4 separate regions of the Homo sapiens genome follow, and regions 1, 3 and 4 are each linked to region 2. Evidence: promoter capture Hi-C in 16 types of primary human blood cells and fetal thymus (Javierre and others, 2016). All regions are on one chromosome and are shown on one strand. The core of a region is centred on a gene start or on the middle of the fragment in contact, and the rest is flanking DNA. Distances in the headings are between cores, read along the strand shown.

Region 1 (2,700 bases), core at 82-2,581, 3.1 Mb before region 2:
CGCCCAGAAATAAAAAGCTTTCCAGGCATGACTTCTACGTTATTCTCTAAATCATAGTTATCTGTGGTGACCAGCAAGTTACCAAATATGGCTATAATATCCTATGTTTTCTCCATATGCTATGGAGAAACAAAGAACCCCTAAACAATGAAAACTAAGGAGACACAAACCCTCCCCCGAGACCCTAGGCTTGGAGGGGCACGAAATAATACCACCATTAATACTAATATTTGCTAAACTGTATTGTGCAAATTTGCTCAACTGTTTCCTCTGTTTCCTATGTGCAAGACCCTGTGCTGAGCACAGTATCTCACTGAGTCATCACAGTAATCCTGTGAGCTGGTACTGATTGTATTAGGCTGTTCTTGCATTGCTATACACAAATACCTGAGGCTGGGTAATTTATAAAGAAAAGAGGTTTAGTTGGCTCATGGTTCTGCAGCTTGCAGAGGAAGTGTAGCACTGTCATCAGCTTGGATTCTGGGGAGGCCTCAGGGGGCCTTTATTCATGGTGGAGGGCAAAGAGGGAGCAGGCATCTCACATGGCCAAGTGGGAGCAAGAGAGAGATAGTGGTGGGGGAGGTGCCACACACTTTTACAAAGACCAGATCTCAGCCGGGCGCAGTGGCTCACGCCTGTATTCACAGCACTTTGGGAGGCTGAGGCAGGCAGATCACGAGGTCAAGAGATCGAGACCATCCTGGCCAACATGGTGAAACCCCATCTCTACTAAAAATACAAAAATTAGCCTGGCGTGGTGGTGCATGTCTGTAGTCCCAGCTACTCAGGAGGCTGAGGCAGGAGAATCGCTTGAACCCAGGAAGCGGAGGTTGCAGTGAGCTGAGATCGTACCACTGCTCTCCAGTCTGGCGACAGAGTAAGACTCCGTCTCAAAAAAAAAAAAAAAAAAAAAAAAAAGACCAGATCTCCTGTGAACCCAGAGTGAGAGCTCACTCTTCACCAAGCCATTCATGAGGGATCCACCCCTATGATCCAAACACCTCCCACTAGGCTCCATCTCCAATACTGGAGATTATATTTCAACGTGAGATTTGGACTGGGACAAATATCCAAACTATATCACTAATGTTACACTTGTTTTATAGATGTGAAAAGGTGCTCCTTATAATGGAGGATGATTGACCTGTCCAAAATCACAGAGCAAGATGGTGATAAAATCAGGTCACCAAGCCAGGCTTGCCCAGTGCTAAGACTTCTCCCTATTATATCACCTCCCAGAATTAAGACAATGGAGTTTTCCCATGCCACACCCAGCATTGCCTACTCTCTGTAATGGCTATGTTGGGTCTGGAGACTCCGATTTTCCATGAAACTCAGTAGTCATACACTTGGAAATCTCAAGTTCTGCCTTTCCCCCTTTTGGCATGGGTGGCTGTCCCACTATGTCTCAGCCTTGCCACTTCTTCCTAAATCTGAGAAAGTGAATGTTAGCCAGCCCTGACTCTTTCCTGTTGACTTAGCAAGCACTGATTGAACTTGTACTTGGAACAATGGTTTCCTAGGTTCTGAGTGGCAGAATGGGGCAGGAGGGGAGGAGACCAGTGAGGCGAGGCTTGACCAATACCAAGCTGGCTAACATCAATATGGCTCTTTACCATTTTACAGAGAGTGTTCACACACTCATTCTCCTATGGTTCCCACACAGGAATCTCTGAAGTAGGAGCAGGCATCCCATCTCACAGGTGAGGACAAAGCCTCTCACAGAGTGTATGTGCCTCATCTGTGGCCACGTGCTCTGCAGAATCAGGGTTCAATTACCATCCCTGTGATGCCTCGTGGAGTGCTCTGCATTGCTGCTGGAATCCTATGTCTCCTCCTACTTACTTTCCTCTATTTCATTCTCATACATAGCTGAACCTCTCTGTGCCTCACTTTCCTCATCTGTATATGGGGAGAACAATAGTGGCTACTGTTTTGTTGTGAAGATTAAATAAGGTAATACATGTAAAGATAGTTGAAAGAGTACATAACACATAATAATTACTTAACAAACATTAGGTACTCATAGTTACTATTAACAATTACTAGTATTACCATTACTGCTGATACTATGATGCACACACAAGTAACAATTATAAAGATATATGCAAATAAATGCAAATGAGTATATGCACTTGCTTATTATTTTACAATGAAAGTGCTGAATGATACGAAGCAAAAAAAAGTGATATAAAATAAGATTTCCTAAACTTGGCTGTTTTTGATATATATATATCCCTAACATTTCATGTTTCAGTAATTAAGGCCATGAAGAGAACTAAAATATTGACTAAATCCTGGAGGAATTTCCAAATGGGAATGATGGAAAGACAGACACAGAGACAGGCCAGCCACCACAGCCACCAGGTTAAAATGAGGGAAGGCCTACAATTGCCATGGGAACAGAGAAGACAAGGAGAGGGAAAAGAGAGAAGCATTTTTTTTTTTTTGAACTAGGCCAGCTAACACAGTTATGTAACTTAATTGTCATAACTGTCATGTGAGATACATGGTATTAGCCTCATTTTACAAATGTGGAAATTGAGACTCAAGTTCAAGTACCTTGTTGAAGTCACAAAATGAAATGGAATTTTAACAGACTTTTACTCTAAAACCCATGCTTTCTCTACCTCTCTACCACCAACAGAAGCTTCTGGGGAGCACCTCGGGAGACAGCCTTTTGATGTCTCCCTTCTCTGG
Region 2 (2,700 bases), core at 61-2,560:
GCTCACTTTGGTCAAGAAAAATTATAAATAATTGAGTTACAGATAATTAAATGTTAGCCTCCTGGAGTGCATGGCAATTGGTTTTGACCTCTATATTAAAATTCACAAGACCACGGACATAAGTCAAAACAGGTCCCCTTCGTCTCCCTAGTCACCATCTCCAGGGCTAAAAAACAGACTTGAAATGGGTGGCAGTTAGACTACAGGAAACAGGATCTACAAGCACCAGGAGCTCATCTATGGCTATCTGACATCGCCTGGGGACACCTCACTCTCTGGCAGGCTCCTGCTGGCTGGAGATTGTTAACATCGCCAATCAGATGTTAATTGAATGCAAAGGAATAGGAAATAAATTCTGGTTCTGAAGGGGCAGCTGGAAAGGTGTTGGGCTTCTCAGATTCCAACCTACATTACAAAGCAGGCCTAAAGCCAAGCATACTCCTTGCCAGAAGAAACGGAAAGCCCCTCTCCCGTTTTTAGAATCAGGCTGGAAAACACGGCTCCCAGAAGGTGGGGTTAGAAAACAAGAGCTTGCGAGGCGGCGCCCTGTGGTCCCTCGAGGAAATAGTAGAGAGACAAAGAGGGCCTGCTCCTGGGAAGCCCTAAATTCGAAGCCAATCCTTCCTCCTAGACATGACCACAACTTTAAAGGGCAGGGCGCACACCTCCCCTCCCGGATCTCTAGGACAAAGGCAGGTCGAGGGTAAATATTTCTAGTTATTCAGTATATTCAGTGGCTAACTATTTATTTTGTGGGTACCAGACACCGACATAATCGGTTACGTCCTTCCCTTAATTCTCATAATTCTGAGGTTTGTGTTATTAACCCCCTATTATCTTTGGTCTACCCAGGGCAGCCAAAGAGGCGCAGAGAAGAATGACAAGGTGCCCAGCAAGCGGCAGGATCAAAGCCTGGGTCTCTAATTCCCAGGCTGGAGATTCTGGGCTGCCTGCTCCTCCTGCACGGGGCGAAAAGCCCACCTGGGATCCGAGCGGGCGGCCGCGCCACTCTCGCAGGCTCCATACACCCGCCACTACCCGCCTGTACCACCTGCAGCCGGCAGCGCAGCCTCCTCGCGGGTCCCGCAGGGCGCGCTGCAGGTGCGCTGGGCGTCCCGAAGCCCCGCCCTCGCGTCCCTGCCCCGCGCCCAGCTCCTCACGCTCGGTGCCCGCGCCCCGCAGCGGCAGCGCAGAACGCACCGCCTCTGCCAGAGCCCGGGAAGCGCTCGGGCGAAGAGGAGGAGCCAAGGGTACCGAGCGGGTGGAGTCGGGAGCCGGAGAGCGGTGGAGGCGGATTTCCTGGGCCCGGCCCTCTGGCGCTACCATGGCGTTTGGCAAGAGTCACCGGGATCCCTACGCGACCTCCGTGGGCCACCTCATAGGTAAGGAGGCGCGGGGAGAGACGCCCAGGCAGGCAGGGGACCGTGGGATCCTTTCCTGCTTGATCCATTCTCGGCCTGCAGAGGACGGAGTTAGTCCAACTTGAAAAAATTATTCCCCTCCCCCCGCAACTTTCCCAAGGCACCCGCATTCCACCCGGCCCCCTTTCGTCGTTTCCTTCTTGGCCAACTCACTGTAGAACCTCAGTCCTCAAAAATGTACCTTCCTTTCGATGCCGCCTGGGGAGTGGAACCAAACAGGTGAACCGCGGGAGTCAGGCATGGAGTGTTTGGGCCTCCACGAGGAGACACCAGAAACTTCTCGGTAGGGGAAGTTATTCCTAAAGGCACATTCTCCAGGGCACGGTATTGTTATGCCCGTTTTACAGATCAGAAGAGGAGGCTCTGGGAGACTAAGTGATGTGGCCTTACTGTGAGGGGCAGGTCTCCCCAAACCAGTTTTCTCTAGTGCCAAGCTTATACAACCTGGATTACTTTTCTGGGTAAACAAAGAGAATGAAAATGCTTGGCATTGGAGTGAAGAGGAGGGGAACATAGGAGCCATCTGGGGCCACGGAGGTCTCTCGCAGGCCACTAGGGACTACACCAGCATCCACCTAAATGATTTCTCTCTCCTCCGGATGTACCTTGCATGATGTATGTAGAAGCCAGTGATTGGACTCCTACCAGCACCAGCTCACTGCTCCTTCTTTTCCCTGATTCCTCCCTTGGGAATTGGGTGTGGCACGAGTGCATATTAATGCCAGGCAAAGTGTGATGATGTCAGGAACTTAGTGGGGTGATGAAATCGTGAGAACCTAGTAGTTGTAGTAAAGAGGCCCAGATTTGGAAAATTTAGATCACAGCTCTACTAACTGCTGTGACACCGAACACACCACTTAAACAGAACCTTAGTTTACACATCCTTATAAGATGGTCAGAGTAGCTACCATTGAGGAGATGCTTTCCCTTAATGGCTGTGCTTTTTTGGATATTAGAATGAACCCCAAGCAGAAATGGATTCAGACTGTGTCTTCATAGGCAAACGAAACTTCAGCAGTTCTTCTGCTTAATTTTTTAATTCTGTAAACATGGACTAACTGTCAGCTATGTGCCTGGACCTGGATCAGGCACTGGTGAGGCCAAGGTGAGACGTGGTCTCAAACCTGAGGGAACTCACTTTCTTGTAGAGAAGACGGGCACAGTTTTGTGTGGCACCTTTGCAATGCAAGAAAATGCAAAACACACAAAACTTAGGAGAAGGGAGAAATGAATTCTGCGTGGCTTTTGAAGGGTGAATAGGAGTTTTCTTTTCTAGGGA
Region 3 (2,700 bases), core at 123-2,622, 3.1 Mb before region 2:
CAAACCCAGGTCTTCTGATTCCAAGACTAATGATCTCGATGTAAGCAAATGCAAGTGTCCTTGCTCATTTCAGATTAAAAAAAAATACTTTGGGGGGCCAGGTACTTTGGCTCATGCCTGTAATCCTAACATTTTGGGAGGTCGAGGCAGGCGGATCACCTGAGGTCAGGGGCTTGAGACCAGCCTGGCCAACATGGCGAAACCCCGTCTCTACTAAAAATACAATTAGCGGGGTGTGGTAGCAGGCACCTGCAGCTACTCGGAAGGCTGAGGCAGGAGAATCACTTGAACCCAGGAGGCAGAGGTTGCAGTGGCTGAGATCGCGCCACTGCACTGCAGCCTGGGTGACAGAGTGAGACTGCATCTCAAAAATAAATAAATAAATAAATAAAATAAAAAACAAGTAAATAAAAAATATGTTGGGGATTTTCATTTCTTCTCCAGTCTCTATTTGCAGATCTTAGGCAGTTCCAGAAAAAGTGGGATCTTTTTCAGGAAAAGAGAGGACTATAATTGGATGCTAGCCTGCTGAAGTTCATCCCAGGAGGAGGCTTCGAGAAACCTGAAGGTCAAGGAAGTCCCTCAATTTCCTCACCTGCGGAATTCATACTGGTTTGAGACTGGTTGGAGCTACGTATATTGAGGGAAGCAGGTAATAGGTGCTCCACAGATGTGCCTGTCCAGGTTGTATGTCAATCAATATTATCTTGATAACTTGAGACCATCTAGAAGCACTATGTTCTTTTGCAAAGCAAAAATTGTATGCCTGGTGTATTTATTTTGCAAAATTAGATGTCTTTGCATAGCAAACACAGTGCTTTGCAGCAGTCAGTGATTTGGGGCCTCTAATAAATGGGGTCATCTTTTTTCATTCTGGTGACACTATCATGTTTAGAGGGAAATAAATTTGGTCAATGCATTTTTAAGGTAGGAAAAATTTTCATTCTTTGAAATTCAGCCACAATCCTGTTCATAAAGATGGCATCTTGGTTAGAACTTTACTGGGTGCCACAGGGGGTGGCGGTAAATTCTGAACCTGAATTTTCTCTGTTAATCATCACAATTTCTCCCTCACCAAACCCAGCACCATTTGCTTATTCTCAGTGGGAAGATATTAGGCTAAACCCATATGTGGAGGGAAGGCCTCCCACAGGGCATACCTGTCTTACCTGGTTTCTATGGCACTTTCCATAGAAGCAAACTGCCATCAGTCGGGGGCCAGAACTTGACCTCAGCTATCTTTGGCTCTAAAGCCTGTGCTTTTAACCACTGGAAATTATTAGGTTGTGCAGTTTTTGTTTCTGTTTTTTGATACGGAGTCTCACTCTGTCGCCCAGGCTGGAGTGCAGTGGCGTGATCTTGGCTCACTGCAACCTCCACCTCCCGGGTTCAAGTGATTCTCCCTCCACAGCCTCCCAAGTAGCTGGGATTACAGGTACCTGCCATCACGCCCAGCTAATTTTTATATTTTTAGTAGAGACGGGGTTTCACCATGTTGGCCAGGCTGGTCTCGAACTCCTGACCTCAGGTGATCCACCTGCCTCGGCCTCCCAAAGTGCTGGGATTACAGGCATGAGTCACCACTCCCAGCCACAGCTGGTTATTTAACAATGTAATATTACAGCATTTTCTTCAAGAGGTGGGTTGAGAGTGTAGGAGCCTCACAGTAGTTTGGAGCTCAGGATGTTTAGGATTACTTACTGTTTACTCAGGGTTCTCTAGAGAAACAGAATAGTGTGTGTGTGTGTGTGTGTGTGTGTGTGTGTGTGTACATATATATGTATAAAGACGGGTAAAATAAAGAGACAACACATGCGCACACACACATACATACTACTGTGTGTGTGTGATATATATATATATATATATATATATATATATATATATATATATATATCACGTAAAATAAAGAGATTTTAAGAAATTGTCTCATCTAATTATGGACATTGGCAAGTCCAAAAGCCTGCAGGCTGGAGGCAAGAGCTGATGCTGTAGTTTACCTCTGAAGGTACCCTGCAGAATTCCTTTTCATTCAGGGAGGTCAGTCTTTTTGATCTCTTGAGGCCTTCCACTGATTGGATGAGGCCCATCAACCTTATGCAGGGCAATCTGCTTTACTCAAATTCCACTGATTTAAATGTTTATCTCATCCATAGACATTCTCACAGAAATATCCCAATTAATGTTTGACCAAATATTTGAGTGCCATGGCCCAGCCAAGTTAACACATCAATTAACCACTACACTTATTTTCAAATTCTATTTGCCTTCTTTATTACATCAGTTCAAATAGCTCTTAACCAAATAGTTGTTCTGATACCACACATAAAGGGTTATATATATAATACAAATATGCGTGTGTGTATATATACATGCATATATTATATAGCTACATTATCTATATCTGTATATATTATATATACACATATGTATATTATATATGATACAAACACATATGCATTTTATCTATATATTTCCTACATCACATAATTTTAAAAGTCAGCTACACAAAGACTGTTTTCCAAATGTCAGTCACATAGAAGGAGAACCAGTTTGAAAAGATGTACATCTGAATGATAGAACAATTATAAAGAAATAATTTAACTTTTCTTGTTAAAGAACAAGGCAGGTTTATCCTTGAGTATAGATGGGACCATGGAGATTATTTTGATGTAAATCCCCTATTGTTTTGGGTCTTAG
Region 4 (2,700 bases), core at 160-2,659, 3.4 Mb before region 2:
CACCAGCCTAGGGGAAGACAGTGAGGCCCTGAGAGGGATGTGATCCCACAGGGAGGCCACACAGATGAGGAAGAGCAGAGGTCCAAAGGCTGGGCCTTGAGAAATGCCTCCATTTAAGGGAATGGTGCTCAACCTTGGCTGCATGTTGGGGTCACTTAGAGGTTATAAAAGCTCCTGATGCCTGGGTCTCACCTCCAGATATTCTGATTTCATTGGCCTGAAAGGCAATCTGGCTATCAGAATGGGGTGTGTGTGTGTGTGTGTGTGTGTGTGTGTGTGTATGCTTTAAAAATTATTATTTATTTTTGGTATCTGACTTTTTAAGGCTTCCCAGGTAATAATACTGTGTAGCTGAAGTGAACAGCAATCAGTTAAAGGGGATGACAGAAGAGAAATTCAAGAAGCCATCTCACAGGGCCAGAGAGAGGGTAGAAGTGTTTTCATTTGTTCCATAACATGCATTGAGTACCTAATAATAATAGCTACCACCTAGTGAAGGCTGTGGCCAGGCCCTGTGCTGAGTCATTTGCACACATTATCTCATCTAATGCTCACACCACACAACATTATGAGATATTCTTACCCCCTTTTGCAGATGGAGAAACTAAGAATCAGAGAAGTCAAATAACTTGGCTAAAGTCATACTTCTAAAACTTAGTGGGAGAGTCAGGATTCCAATGTGGTGTAGGATATCTTCCAAACCCTTGGAGTTAATCACTGTGCTATGCTGCCCATCACCTGCCAGATTTTCTGCTTGGAACTGTCAAGGGGCTTGCGGTCTTGTGGGTATAGAAGAGTTACACATAATGAGGTAAGTGCTGCGGTGGAGGAAGGTAAAATATCCCGGTGGAGAAAGCTCATAATAGCCTGGAGGACTCAAGAAAAGCTTTGCCTATGAGCTAATGCCTCGGGAAATATTTTCTATTTATTCCTGCACCCAGAAACAGGCTCCACCTCTTGATAGGAGGGGAACACATGTCTGTAGGGAGAAAAGAGTTGATGGTGGCCATCTTGAAGGTAAACGACTACAGTCTTGATCCTGGGCACTTCTGAGAGAGGCCTGGTAGCTGTTAACTTTCCTTTCAGACCCTTTGGGTTTATGAAGATGACAAAATCTCTCAAGCGAATGGCAGCCAGATTGGTTTCTATCTACTTTCATTTATTTATTTACCTTTATTTTAATTTGAGAGACAGGGTCTTGGTCTGTTGCCCAGGCTGGAGTGCAGTGGCACAATCATAGCTCACTGCTGCCTGAACCTCCTGGGCTCGGGTGATCCTCCACTTCAGCCTCCCAAGCAGCTGGGACTACAGTGCACACCACCACACCTGGCTAAGTTTTAAAATTTTTTGTAGAGACAGGGTTTTGCCATGTTGCCCAGGCCATTCTTCAACTCCTGGCCTCCAGTGATTCTTTCAGCCTCCTAAAGTGCTGGGATTACAGGTGTCAGCCACTGTGCCCGGCCATCTGTCTAGTTTTAAACTACCCTATAGTAAGATCCACAACTACTGGGAAGGGGCTCCTAGCCTTAGTCACACTCTGAAGAATTCTTCAGGAGCGGAGCAGCCAACTGGGCCAGTGATAGTACCCACTGCCTTCAAGAGAAATGCCCTTACATAAAGTTTGATATCTTATTTGGAAAGGTGTCTTCTAAGTCAATGTGAATTTACTGCATTTGGAGGGAGAAAGGGCACATTTCAACTTTCAGAAATGGGAAGCTAAAAGTGGGCATCAGTCAGGGTTGTCATCACCTTATATATCATAACTGAATTTGTGCTGATGTCATCCTTGACTACATGAGTCAGAACATAATAAACTTTAAAATTGCCAGAAGAAAGGCTGCTGCTCATGCTTGTGATTTATGACACAAATCCAAAGCTGCTACATTTTCTGCACTTACCATTTATATTTGCATGAAGTTCAAAGGGGGAACAAGAAGCTTAACTCTTTCTCTGACGTGGTCAACAAGACTGTAGTCTCAGAAGGAACCAGATTTGCTTTGTGCATTTTAACATAGGGTTCTTAGTGTCTGTTTTTGATTGAGAGAGACACCTTTGCATTAACCACACAACTTCACTCTCTGTTCCATCCCTGAGGCTGCTCAAGGGAACCAGCTTATTATAAACAGGTTTAATTGAGGTTCCTTAAAAGTCAGGGAGTTGAGAACTCTTTTATTTGAATGCAATAGCTGTATCAATTTGAGATGCAATTAGTGGCCAAATATATAATTTTATACAAGTGGTCCTCACCAATTTGCAGACTTTTAAAAATTAAATTTACTATTAATGAAATTATTCAGGGGTAAGACATTCAACATTAGGATGGTTAAAAATGGCAAGGAATGTTTATATTGCTTCAGGCTGCTTTAACAAAATACTTTAGACTTTTGGTGGTTTATAAACAACACTTATTTCTCACAGTTCTGGAGGCTAGGAACTCCAAGATCAAGTTGCCAGCAGATTTGGTGTCTGGTGAGGGCCCATTCCTTATAGACAGTGCCTTCTTGAGGTGTCCTCACAGGATGGAAGGTGCCAAAGAGTTCCCTTATAAAAAGACATGAAGGTCGGGTACAGTGGCTCATGCCTGTAGTCCCAGCACTTTGGGAGGCTGAGGCGGGCAGATCACCTGAGGTCAGAAGTTCAAGACCAGCCTGGCCGACACGGTGAAATCTTGTCTCTATAAAAATGCACAAATTAGCCAGG

What was found. The method cuts DNA at HindIII sites, captures the fragments that hold promoters and counts their contacts. A CHiCAGO score of 5 or more calls a contact.
Region 1: a contact is called between a fragment that was not itself captured here and the fragment with the promoter of TOM1L1 in region 2, in 1 of 17 cell types (endothelial precursors). The highest score is 7.8, in endothelial precursors.
Region 3: a contact is called between a fragment that was not itself captured here and the fragment with the promoter of TOM1L1 in region 2, in 1 of 17 cell types (endothelial precursors). The highest score is 6.1, in endothelial precursors.
Region 4: a fragment that was not itself captured here is called in contact with the fragment with the promoter of TOM1L1 in region 2 in 1 of 17 cell types (endothelial precursors); the score reaches 5.6 in endothelial precursors.

Annotation. Positions count from the first base shown.
Region 1 is chr17:51,770,231-51,772,930 of GRCh38, forward strand. The region is part of intron 3 of CA10 (carbonic anhydrase 10); the gene reads right to left. Among named protein-coding and RNA genes, the nearest start is that of LINC02073, 340 kb to the left of the region's middle. The HindIII fragment of the contact is 2,633 bases long and covers 16-2,648 here.
Region 2 is chr17:54,899,542-54,902,241 of GRCh38, forward strand. It overlaps TOM1L1 (target of myb1 like 1 membrane trafficking protein), which reads left to right and starts at 1,311. Exons shown (of 16, transcript NM_005486.3): 1 at 1,311-1,382. The coding sequence starts at 1,325. LOC124904033 (a long non-coding RNA gene) reads right to left here and starts at 1,196. Exons shown (of 2, transcript XR_007065854.1): 1 at 1-1,196. RefSeq lists a silencer at 986-1,325 and enhancers at 1,406-1,515, 1,536-1,625. The HindIII fragment of the contact is 6,286 bases long and covers 1-1,853 here.
Region 3 is chr17:51,752,552-51,755,251 of GRCh38, forward strand. The region is part of intron 3 of CA10 (carbonic anhydrase 10); the gene reads right to left. Among named protein-coding and RNA genes, the nearest start is that of LINC02073, 320 kb to the left of the region's middle. The HindIII fragment of the contact is 5,749 bases long and covers 1-2,700 here.
Region 4 is chr17:51,455,328-51,458,027 of GRCh38, forward strand. No RefSeq gene overlaps it. Among named protein-coding and RNA genes, the nearest start is that of LINC02073, 21 kb to the left of the region's middle. The HindIII fragment of the contact is 1,051 bases long and covers 885-1,935 here.